Regions from separate parts of the Homo sapiens genome. Here region 2 is linked to region 1. The links are contacts of gene promoters, found by promoter capture Hi-C in blood cells and fetal thymus (Javierre and others, 2016). All regions are on one chromosome and are shown on one strand. The core of a region is centred on a gene start or on the middle of the fragment in contact, and the rest is flanking DNA. Distances in the headings are between cores, read along the strand shown.

Evidence for each region. Contacts are between HindIII fragments. The CHiCAGO score rates a contact against its expected background, and 5 or more counts as called.
Region 2: a fragment that was not itself captured here is called in contact with the fragment with the promoter of OPTC in region 1 in 1 of 17 cell types (M2 macrophages); the score reaches 5.0 in M2 macrophages.

Annotation. Positions count from the first base shown.
Region 1 is chr1:203,490,940-203,497,084 of GRCh38, forward strand. It overlaps OPTC (opticin), which reads left to right and starts at 3,214. Exons shown (of 8, transcript NM_014359.4): 1 at 3,214-3,278; 2 at 5,026-5,297; 3 at 6,038-6,145. The coding sequence starts at 5,067. It overlaps PRELP (proline and arginine rich end leucine rich repeat protein), which reads left to right. Exons shown (of 3, transcript NM_002725.4): 3 at 1-413. RefSeq lists an enhancer at 521-1,319 and a silencer at 2,707-2,935. The HindIII fragment of the contact is 16,129 bases long and covers 1-6,145 here.
Region 2 is chr1:203,277,327-203,283,471 of GRCh38, forward strand. No RefSeq gene overlaps it. Among named protein-coding and RNA genes, the nearest start is that of LINC01353, 6.8 kb to the right of the region's middle. RefSeq lists a silencer at 5,969-6,018. The HindIII fragment of the contact is 386 bases long and covers 3,582-3,967 here.

The sequences.
Region 1 (6,145 bases), core at 1,964-4,463:
TGGATACCTCTGTGTCCTAAGTGTTTGTAATAATGCTGTGTGTCAGGCCTCTGAGCCCAAGCTAAGCCATCATATCCCCTGTGACCTGCATGTGCACATCCAGACGGCTGGTTCCTACCTTAACTGATGATATTCCACCACAAAAGAAGTGAAAATGGCTGGTCCCTGCCTTAACTGATGACATTACCTTGTGAAATTCCTTCTCCTGGCTCATCCTGGCTCAAAAGCTCCCCCACTGAACACCTTGCAACCCCCACCCCTGGCCACCAGAGAACAACCCCCTTTGACTGTAATTTTCCATTACCTACCCACATCTTATAAAATGGCCCCATCCCTATCTCCCTTCGCTGACTCTTTTCGGACTCAGCCCGCCTGCACCCAGGTGAAATAAACAGCCTTGTTGCTCACACAAAGCCTGTTTGGTGGTCGCTTCACACAGACACGAGTGAAACTACTGTGTATGAACAGTATAAAGGAAAGGGCTTTTACCTCTACCTGAGGAAAACCAGAAAGACTCCTACCATGTGAGCTGGCTCTTAAGGGATAAATCAGATTTTGCCAGGTGGATGAAAGAAAAAAAGACGCCACCTGGACAGGAAACAGCATGAGTACAAAGGTAGGAAGGTGTGGAGTCTACCCTGTGGGGCTTGTGTGTCTGAAAAAGAGGAGAGGGTCATGTTCCGGTCATGGAGTGGAGTTATGTGGCTACAAGCCCTCAGCAGGGGATATACCCCTGTCATCCAAAACACAGGAGGGTTCCTGAACTTCCCCGCCTCTCTCTCCCTATCCATGAAAAGGGCAACAACAGGGTTGGCTGGTCAAACTTCTGTCCATACCACCTGCCGCCTCCGATTCATCAACACGCCTTTTGCCTCTCCTAATGAGAGATTAGGATTAGGACGCCTCCCCCGCCTCCTGCTTCCTTTGCCAGGCTCTTGGGGAGCTGGGCTGCCTGGAACAGCAGTCTGCGGGGTTAGCCGTTTCCCCCACCAGGTCACATGTACACATCCATGGACAGCCCCTAATATTCATGAGAACAAGAGTGTGTGACCTGTGAGCTTGGGAAAGCAAGAGGAGAAGTTGGGAGAGGGTCTAGGATGCGAGCCTGAGTCTGGATGTGGCTCCTGCAGGGAGTGGGGGGAGCAGGTGTGTATGCATTGGGGAGGAACGATGGTGGGGGTGTGGCAACCAAGCAGGGATGGCAGGAGCGTATGTCTCTGGGAAAGCAGGGAGGGAGAGTGGGAGCAGGCGGCAGGGAGAGTGAATGAACACTCGCATTTGCATTTCTCCCAGGAATAAATGTGTGGGGTGGGAGCGGGGAGATTGCCTAGGCTGGCTGTGGGGGTGGAGGGCCTCTGGCTGCAAAGCCCAGGCTGTGGAGAGAAGATGGAGGCATACAGCCCGCCAAATGTGCCATCTGCCTACTGGATGCCCTCCAGGATCCAGGGCTATCTTTCCCTCCACCCAGCAGAGCCTCTGATGGTGTCTTTTCCCAGGTGGGGGGCTGCCAGGGGTACAAGAACATGCTCTTCTCTGGTGACCAGGCTCTTGGGCTGAGGGAAGCCCCCTCTTGCACCAGCTGGAGCCCAGGAACACAGCAAGCCAAATGCTGCCCTCGAGGGCCAGGCTATTAGATCTGCCTCTTCACCTGGTGTGCCAGGGCAGAGATGAGTTCTGCCAAGCCATCTGCTCTGAGGGCCTGGAAACACACGGATTCAGGACTCCTGGGGAAGAAGGTGGAAATGGGGAGGGTCATATGAACTAAAGAAAACTCTCTGACCAGGGAGTCAAAAAATCTAGGCATTGGCCCTGGCTCTGTGTGACCTAGGGCAAGTCACGTCACCTCTTTGGGCCTCACTCTCCTCATCTATACCACAAGGACTTGGACTAGATCTTTAGGGGGCCTCACAGCTGGAATTCAGTATCTGGTTGGTGGAAAGGAGTAGGGAACAAGGAGAGTCACTGAGAAACCTGGGTGGGCGCCAGGGCACAGGCTGGCAGAAGCTGGGGAAGACTCCTTAGCCACCCCACCTCTGCCTTCAGCAAGGACTTGCTCGGCAGCCTGCTCGAGGCACCAAGGAAAGGGGAGTGTTTCCAGATGAATGCCGTTGGCCCTCTGTATCTGTGGGTTCCACATCCGTGGATTCAACCAACCACAGATTGAAAATATTCAGAAAAAAAAAAAATTCACAACGTTCCAAAAAGGAAAACTTGAATTTGCTGTGTGCCAGTACTATGTGGAATCCATGTGAATGGAGTGAGGTGTAAGCATTGTGTTTGGTGTTATAGGTAATCTAGAGATGATTTGAAGTACACAGGAGGATGTGCGTAGGTTATGTGCAAATTCACCATTTTATATAAAAGACCTCAGCATATGTGGATTTGGTATCCACTGGACGTGCAGAACCAATCCCCCATGGTTACTGAGGGACGACTGTACATCTCTGAGGGTGCGGGAGAGGATACTTCCCAGGCCCCCGAGACCCTACACAATGTCTACTGGTGTTTATGATCCTTTCTAGGGCCCACCTCCCAATTTCCATTTGGTTTCCTCCTAGCAGATTTAGAGAATTTCCCGTATCCTCATGATCATCATCTGTGAACTTGAAGTTGGCTTTCAAATCCGATCTCATCCCCCATACACCTTCTCTTTGAACTACCTAGGCCTGCAGCTCCTGTCTCTGGTGATTTTATTCAATTATGGTCTCTGTGCTGGCGCTCTAGGTGAGGGTGAAGTGCCTCATTTCCACCTATTTTTATCTTTGGATTCTGGCTATGAAGCTGAAGCCTTGTCACTCTCTGGCTGGAGAAAGAAGCTGCAAAGACAAGCTCTATCTCTCCATATCCCCCGACTCCAGCCTTCTCTGAGGACTCAGAATCTGAGGGATGGGGCCCCTTCCTTGCAGGGGATGGCACTCCCTGTTCCTCAAAGATGTGGCCTTATCAGGAGAGTGGACAAGGAAAAGAAAGAAGGAGCTGACAGAGTAAGAGGAGAGAGAGCAGGAGCTGGAGGTGGGGGGTGAAGCGGAAGGTGGGGGGAGAATTCTCTTTTGTCAAATACAGGAATGGGGCAGGGGACCCCCTGAGGAAAGAGGAGGGGAAACAGCTGGACATCAGAAGGAATGAGAAGTCTGATTGGTCGCAGGCCTGGCCAACTCCTTGCCCTCCCCCGGGCACCACTGTCTAACCCAAGCCCCAGTTCAGACAGCCTCCACCAGAGTCCCCACCTTTCTGGAAGCTGCAGGGCTCTCCATCCAGGATCCAGAAGCATTGAAGGGGTAAGGCTCAAGGTTGAGGCCTCTGGCCATCGGTGCGCAAATGAGGGCAAAGTGTTTGGCTGGGGCAGGGGATTGGGAAGGGAAAATGAAGAGAGTTTAGGCCTCTGGCCAAAGAAGTTGGACAAGACTTTTGGGTGGGCACTAAACTCTCTTAGAAAAATTTTTTTTGAGATTATGTAATTCGTTTGGGGTGAGGTATGGGAGGTAAGGTGAAGAAACACCTCTTGCTACTGCTAGAGGCTTGCCCCCTTGCCCAGCTAAAATTAAGAAAGGGTGGGGAGGTTAACTGGGCATGGTAACACACGCCTGTAGTCCCAGCTACTTGGGAGGCTGAGGCAGGAGGACTGCCTGAGCCCAGGAGGTTAAGGCTTCAGTGAGCTGAGATCATGCCATAACACTCCAGGCTGGGCAACAGAGTGACACCGTCTTAAAAATAGAAAATAAAATAAAAATTAAAAGATAAAAAAAATTTTAAAAGAAAGAAAGAGGGAGAGTCTACTAGAAACTTGTGCAGCTAGCTTTGGGGAGGGCTGTGTTAAGCCTACACTGGGTATGACTGTTGTATACACTTATGCCTGGATACAAAACCACACCACATGCATTTCCTGACCCGTCTATACATATACGAACTACATGAACATTTGTACTCACATGCATATCACATACATACGCAGGCATCTGTGTGCACACACACACAAATATACACAGGTATCTAAGGAAATTTCCAGATGCGTACACACTCATGCAATCACACACAAAGAACTCTTTTATCTGTAATAATCTGTTTCTAAAAAGCTGCATTTAGAAGTATATTTCATAAACTAACATTCTTTTTTACATTGTATGTTTCATTGTAAGTCCATGTCTCCTAAAGAGACTAGGTGCTCCTAGGAAGGGCTGTGCCTCATTCATTCTGTACCCACAGAGACAAGTCCTGTGCCTGGAACTCAATAGACACCCATAAATGTTTGTTGAGCAAATGCATGAATGGATGATCTTTATAAAAAACCACAAGAGTCAACTGGGCGCGGTGGCTCACACCTGTAATTCCAGCACTTTGGGAAGCCAGGGTGGGTGGATCACCTAAGGTCAGGAGTTCGACACCAGCCTGGCCAATATGGTGAAACCCCTTCTCTACTAAAAATACAAAAATTAGCCAGGCATGGTGGGTGCCTGTAATCCCAGCTACTCAGGAGGCTGAGGCAGGAGATTCGCTTGAACCCAGAAGGCGGAGGTTGCAGTGAGCCAAGATCGCACCACTGCACTCCAGCCCGGGAAACAAGAATGAAACTTCGTCTCAAAAAAACAAACAAACAAAAAGACCCCATAAGATTATTTGATGTTGACATTCTCTAAATCGAGCTTAGTGACTAGCAGTCATGTTCTGAGCATGGGGTTGTTTAAGAGAGGACATCTGTGTGCATGCACCAGTGTGTGCCTCGTTTGTAAACAAGGGGACTCTTGTGAATGTGTCTGTGTTGAGATGTGTCTGCACATGCCTCTGTGAGTGAATATCAGTGTTTGGGTGAGCGTGTAAAAACACTCAAGTGGGGCGGTGGAGGGAGGGGGCTGCTAGGAGATACCCCCCAAGACATAGTCCCAGCTGGTAGGGAATTTGTGCATGTGATGAGAGCACTGAGTCTGCAAGTGTGGGGGTGGGAAGTGGAGTAAATCTGCGAGCCATTCCCACAACACTCTGGAGAGCCTGTCCCTCAGATCGCTGCCCTTCCTCGTGCCCACTTGCCAGGACCAGCCGCTGAAGGGATTCTCAGTCCCATCTGACTCCCCATGAGGCTCCTGGCTTTCCTGAGTCTGCTGGCCTTGGTGCTGCAGGAGACAGGGACAGCTTCTCTCCCAAGGAAGGAGAGGAAGAGGAGAGAGGAGCAGATGCCCAGGGAAGGCGATTCCTTTGAAGTTCTGCCTCTGCGGAATGATGTCCTGAACCCAGACAACTATGGTGAAGTCATTGACCTGAGCAACTATGAGGAGCTCACAGATTATGGGGACCAACTCCCCGAGGTGAGGGACACAGCAGACCAACTACATTCCCTGCATGACACTGGGAGTCAGAGGCCAGGGCCCTCCCATCTGCCCCAAAGTGCGGGTGTCTCCAGCCTCCACCTCTTTCTCTGTGAGGTGGAAATTCTTATCCCTCCATAGGGACTTGTCACTTAGATGATACTAAGAAACAGGACACAAACCTGGGACTTCTCCTTCTTCAAAACTCATACTTGCCTCCCCCTGCCAAAGCTATGTCTCACTGGGGGAGGGGTTCGCAATGTCCTCATCATATTCTCTAGGAAATAAAAGTGCCACATCCCCCATCTCTTTTCTGAAACTGTCCTCCAGTCTGAAGTTCTTTCCCAGGTCCTCTTGGCCTTCACTGCAGCAGCGTGGGGTGCAAGCCCAGAAGCCCCTACTCAATTGTGCGTGAGCCTGGTCGGTGTGGAGCAGGGGAAGAGTGCCGGCCTGGGAAATCGGGAGAGCAGGTTTCGTCTCTGCCTTGACCACCTGCTGGCTCTTTGATCCTCATCCCTCTCCTCTCTGGGCCCCAGTTTCTTCATCCATAGGATGGACATGCTGGACCTGATGCTCTGTCAGGTCCCCTTTTTGCACAGTCTTTCTGCTATCCTTCCCTCCTCCTCCTCCACAGTGACTCTTTGCTGGTTTGAAATCCATCACTGAGGTTCCCAGAGTCCAAAGTTAAGTCCCTTTTGTGCAAAAGCTGGGCTACTGTGTACTCTGTGCTACATCTCCAGGTTAAGGTGACTAGCCTCGCTCCTGCAACCAGCATCAGTCCCGCCAAGAGCACTACGGCTCCAGGGACACCCTCGTCAAACCCCACGATGACCAGACCTACTACAGCA
Region 2 (6,145 bases), core at 2,525-5,024, 210 kb before region 1:
TCAGCTGCCTGGTGAGATGTGCCAAGTCGCAGTACTTTAGAAGGGTGGGAGGCAGCCCGTGCCTGGAAACAGCACCCTGGCTGCCCCCACCCAGGCCCTGACCTGCTGGATGGGGCTCAGACTCAGGAAGAGCTGCTGGAAACCTGGGTTCCCCCTTGGCTAGGAACAGAAGGGTTAGGAAGCGCTTGGGGAGGAAGCTGCCCTCAGTGCTTACCTGTGGGAGTCTGTGGTTTCCCTCTGTTTCCTTGTCCCTCTGGGTTTTTGTGTTACTTTGTTTTTGGTTTTCTTTTTGCTTTTTTCCAGGGCTGACAAGAAAAGGGGAGACAGGGGTATAAATTTCTGAGCTGGAAATCTGGAAGGGGAACTGAGCTGGACTCTGATATGTATCACATTAATCCTGTGTAACATTTCTCATAGGCCTGCCCTTGCTGTGTCTTTGAAAATTGTCATGGCTCGCCAAGGTGGGTGGATCACCTGAGGTCAGGAGTTCAAGACCAGCCTGGCCAACATGGTGAAACCCCATCTCTACTAAAAATACAAAAATTAGCCAGGCACGGTGGCGTGTGCCTGTAATCCCAGCTACTCAGGAGGCTGAGGCAGGAGAATCACTTGAACCTGGGAGGTGGAGGTTGCAGTGAGCGAAGATCGCGTCACTGCACTCCAGCCTAGGCGACAGTGAGACTCTGTCTCGAGAAAAAGAAAAAAAGTTGTCATGGTTTGAACCCATACTTGGTGGCCCCATCTCTGTCTCTGACTGTCTATCTGCCTCTGCCTCCCTCTGTCTCTGCCTGTTTCCTGTGTCTGTCTTTGTCTCTATGTGTGTGTGTACAAATACATATAGGTATATATATTCTGTCTTTCTCTGTTGCTGTCTCTCCCCCGACCAATCTGATCTGAAGGATCACAGAGCTGGATGGGACAAGGGTCACCATCTCATCCATTCACAGCCTTTGACCAAGATGGTCTGTGAACCATTGGATGTGGGTTAGGTTTTGAAACAAACTTCCCCTTCCCGCCCCACTTGGGCATCAGTTCATGCTCAGCTTGGGTTTAACAGTCTCCAGATTTCCTCTTTGAGCCAAATTCTCACCCTTCCTGCTGCTGTTTGGACACTTGCTTTGGTGTCCTACAGGGAATAATGATAAGGCAGAGGTCACAGTCCTGGCCCCCACCCAGCCTTGCCTGCTGCGCAGTGAAACTGGTGTTTGCCGGGGCCGGTCTTGGCCAGGAGAGAGGAGGAGGGGTGGAGGCAGCTGGGGAGTGTGAGCAAGATGCCGCGGGGGCTCGGGGGAGACTGCAGCCAAGTGCTGCGTCTGAGGATATTTATAGACAGACACACAGAGAGACATGCACGCAGGGACAGAGTACTGTTTGTTTCCTGGAAACATGGACTGTTCTCTCAGTCCTACCAGATTTCCCAGGGAGCATCATACTGAAATAGGGAAAACTGTGTCTGCTGCCTGGTGTCCGCCCTCCACATAAGGAGAGATCTGATTCGCTCCACACCCCCTTGGTAACTGCAACGACTGCCCCTAGCCTGGGGAAGCCCTTTCCAGGCGTTCCTGACTGCCCCGCTCACTTCTCTGTCTCATCTCGCCTCCCAGGCCTCCTTGCGCTACTCCCACAGCAAAACACTGCACCAGTGCTTGCCCTTCTTGGGGGCTTCCTGGCCTTTGCACACACAGCTCCGTCTGCCAGGAATGCTTTTCCATCCATTCCTATTCTTCTGGCAAAGCCCTACTCATCATCTGCCCACACGTCACCTCCTCTGAGGGGTCTTTTCTCACCTCTCCTCTGAGAGCTTAGGACTTTGCATGGTTATGTCGCTGTTGTTATTTCTATTTACCTCTGTCTCCGCCTCCAAACCATAAATTCCTCAAAGTCAAGGACTTTCTCTTACTCATCTGTGCGTCCTCAACATGTAGACCAGTGCCTGAAGCAGAGCTGATGAGCAATGGAGAATTGTTGAATGAATGGATGAGATTTGTACAGTATAGCTGCTAAGAGTTCAAGGTCTGTGTTCAGTGGAAGATTTGGTTTAAATACCAGCTCTATGTGAACTTAACCTGGAATTAGAAAACAAAACAAAACAAAAAACAAAAATAAATAAATAAATGCCAGAGCTCTGCCTCTTGCTAGCTATGTGATTTTTCCAGTCACCTGGCCTCTCTAAGCGATTCCACGTCTATAAAGTGGCCTATAACAATAGAACCTTGCAAAGGCCGGGCACAGTGGCTCACGCCTGGAATCCCAGCACTTCGGGAGGCCAAGGCCGGCAGATCATGAGGTCAGGAGATCGAGACCATCCTGGCTAACACGGTGAATCCCCGTCTCTACTAAAAATACAAAAAATTAGCCGGTCGTGGTGGCGGCACCTGTAGTCCCAGCTACTCGGGAGGTTGAGGCAGAAGAATGGCGTGAACCTGGGAGGCGGAGGTTGCAGTAAGCCGAGATTGTGTCACTGTACTCCAGCCTGGGCAACAGAGCAGAGCGAGACTCCGTCTCAAAAAAAAAAAAAAAAAAAAAATAGAACCTTGCTTACGTGATTAACGTAAAATTTTAACGACATTACATATTCCCATGGTGCCTGGCACACATGGGTTTTTCTCACAACCCACATTTTGTCAGCAAACCCTGTAGATTCCTCTTTTAAAATGTCCAGTCTCTTCTTACCTTCCAACTGCCAACAACCCAATCCAAACCACCACCATTTCTCACTGACACCCAGCCCTCACTTATTTCCAGCACAGCTTTCAGAAGCAGTCTCTTAAAAATATGTCACATCATCTGACTCCTCTGCCAAAATTCTCCTTGGCCTCTCCTTCTCACTAGAGGAAAAGCCCAGGTCCTCATCATTCTCATCATGGCCTACGAGGCCCTTTAGGATGGTGTCGCCCACCACCACTGACTCCACCTCTTCACTTTCTCCCCTGCTCTCCTGGCTCCAGCTGCACGCCACTCTGCCCAGTGCCCTTCTACGTGCCATTTCCTCAGCTTGGAATTCTATTCCTTCAGAATCCTCATGCCTCCCTCAAAGGCTGCCTTCTCCATGAGGCCCTCCCTGGCTGTCCAATTTAAACTTTCAATGATATGCTCGCTGTTGGCACATTCTTTTTTTTTTTTTTTTTTTTTTTGAGATGGCGTCTTGCTCCTGTTGCCCAGGCTGGAGTGCAGTGGTGGGAACTCAGCTCACTGCAGCCTCCACCTCCCAGGTTCAACGATTCCCCTGAGTTGAGTAGTCCCTGAGTAGCTTGGACTACAGGCATGTGCCATCATGCCCAGGTAATTTTTGTATTTTTAGTAGAGACGGGGTTTCATCATGTTGGTCAGTCTTGTCTTGAACACCTGACCTCAAGCAATCCACCTGCCTTGGCCTTCCAAAGTGCTTCTTACAGGCATGAGCCATTGCGCCTGGCCTCACTATTGGTACCTTCTATCCCACTTTGCTGCTGGATTATTTCACGTTAGCCTTTATGATAGTATTTATCATTAGTAAATATCATTAATATTTATCAATAGTAAATATCATTACTATTTTAGGTATTTCCTTATTTACCGTCTGTCTTCCCTGGTAGAATATAAGCTTCAAGGGAGCAGGGATTTTTGCCTTTTGTGTTTGTTGCTGTATCCCTAGCATGTAGAACAGTCTGGCATGAATGAGTACTCAGTAAATACTTTGTTGAATAAGTAGATCAGATCTGGGAAGTTTTGCTAGAGTACATTTCCCTCTGTTTACAAGAACTTGGTGCCCCGAGACTGTGAAGATGAGAGCTTATACTGATGTAAAATACGAAAATGTAGCATCCCAGAGATCTGGGTGGGGCTCGGCCACTCCTCCTTGCCCCTGGGCAGCCAGAACTGACTCAGGAGGCAGAACCCCAAAGCATGCTTCTGCCTCAGACTGGATTTTCCCCTCCTTCCAGCCCAGCCCAGCTGCCTCCAGTAGAGGGCTTGGCTGGGAACTTCAAGCTTGTCCTTTTCTCTGGAGAGGATGGGCATTGGGCCTCCACCCTTGGAAGAAGGAGTGGCAGGTGAAGATGACCCACAGCTAAATGGCTGCTAGCTGCCTTTTGTCCAGTTTTCTTGGGATTCCCACAGGGCCTTCCTAGGGAAAAAAATCAATGCCATCCTCCTTGGCCTTGGTTTTCCAAGAAAGCAATGCTCTTCGCTGGGCATGGTAGCTCACGCCTGTAATCCCAGCATGTTGGGAGGCTAAGGCAGGAGAGAATCACTTGAGCCCAGGAGTTCGAGACTAGACAGGGAATCATAGGGAGATCCCGTCTCTACACATAATAAAATAAAATAAAATAAAAAATTAGTGGGGCATGGGGTGGCACGTTCCTGTAGTCCTCACTACTCAGGAAGCATCCGTCTTGTTTCTCCAGATAAACTGAACATTTGCTGACAGCACAGACCCTGTCTTATTCACCTTCATTTGCCAGTACTTTAGAGCATGGTAGCTGCTCATTAAGTTTTTGTGAAATAATTATGAAATTATTCCTATTTCATAATTAATAGTGAAATAAATATTTCACTAGGAGTGAAATAATTATGAAATCACCGTTACCGCCCCCACCCCCAACCTGCCAAAGTCTTCCTAGAAAAGCATCCTGCTGTTTTTCACTGTAACTCCCATCAGGCAGAAAGCCCCAGAACTCGGGGCAGGGAAATGTTCACCCAACCCAATGAGGCCTTCCTGGACCCTCCTTGCCCCTCTCCCACTCCCAGTTCTCTAGCCCCATGTCTAGGAACCTCTCTGGGTCCTCTGGCACTGGTGGTGGGTCCTCTGTCCTGCTCCCAATCCCCTCCCTCTGTCCTAAGAACACTCTTTCCAGGCTCCTAGCTGTGAGTGACACATCAGATACCGCAGCACAGGGTGCTCCTGGATGGAGACAAGGTAGGAGGGTGAGGGATGGTGACAGGATATAAGAAATTCAGAGAGCAGGAGAAATTGGAGAAGGCAGCAAGCCCACTGCCCTCCCTCCCAGCTTGGAGGCTAGATCTTTAGACAAGGTCTGTAAATAACATCAGAGTGGCCTCTGGTTCTGTGTTTGAACTGTGACGTTCTACTCCCCAAATAGAACTCGACTATCTGATCCAGGCATTCCCTGGGCCTGGGGGAGCAGCGAGAACCTGTCTCTCCCTCTCAGGGTACTCTAGAGCCAGGACCCAGGACCCTGCCCCCATGACCCAGCTCACATATCTACGAATCCGTGAGGTTGTACTGAAGGTATGGTTTGTGTGACCTTTGCAACACACTCATGTCTCTGGAGCACCCGAGGTTAGAGTTTTCAACAGTTCATAAGAGAGACAAGTAGTGCTGTGTTTTCTCCCTGAAAATAAGCAGAGATTCTGATGCCCAGGGGGAACACCAGAGTGGGCTCAAAGGTCACTTACTGTGGTCAAGCTCCACAGAAATTCAACCACTCACTCCCCTGTGTTTTGGGTCTCCCAGGAGGGCCTTGGGAGTATGTGCAGTGGGCTGCCCCTATGGGAGGTGGCTGAGAATAGGGAAGGTGGAGAACACAGCCAGGGCCATGCAAGCGTGCAGTGAGGCGTTCTGTCCTGTTACAGTGTGTCTCCCTGCCACCCTCTGTTTCTCCCACCCTCTCGCCCTTTCTGCTCCAATAATCCCTCCTCCCTCCAGAGAGCAGAGGGGTGACTGACGGGTCTGCCATCTGCTGCCTTCCCTCATGCTCCAGGTACCCTGCACAGGAGTAATCTAAACGACTTGGGTAACCGAGATAAGATCCTTGCTGCCATTAAACATTGACAGGCCCCAGTGTGATGAGAGTGCTCAGTTGCAGAGAAACTCCTGGACTAGTCCATGGGGAGGCAGGGAGACCACAGCAGCTGGGCCATTAAAAATGAATGGAAACCAACCCTTCTAAGGGGCTGTGCCTCTTAAAGTGACAGTTCTCCTGTTGGCTGGGGGAGAAGCCAGGAGGATTCAGAAAAGGCCAGGAGGCCCAGGCCCTACCCAGTATTCAAAGTCGTAGCTATTTGTGCCCTTCACACTCTGTTAGTTGGGCGGAAAGAGCGTGGGTTCGGAATCAGGCAGATTTGAATTTGAGTCTCAGCTTGACCCTACAGTGTGGGTTTAGGCACCCTGAACGTTAGTTTGTTCATCTGTAAAATGGGCTTA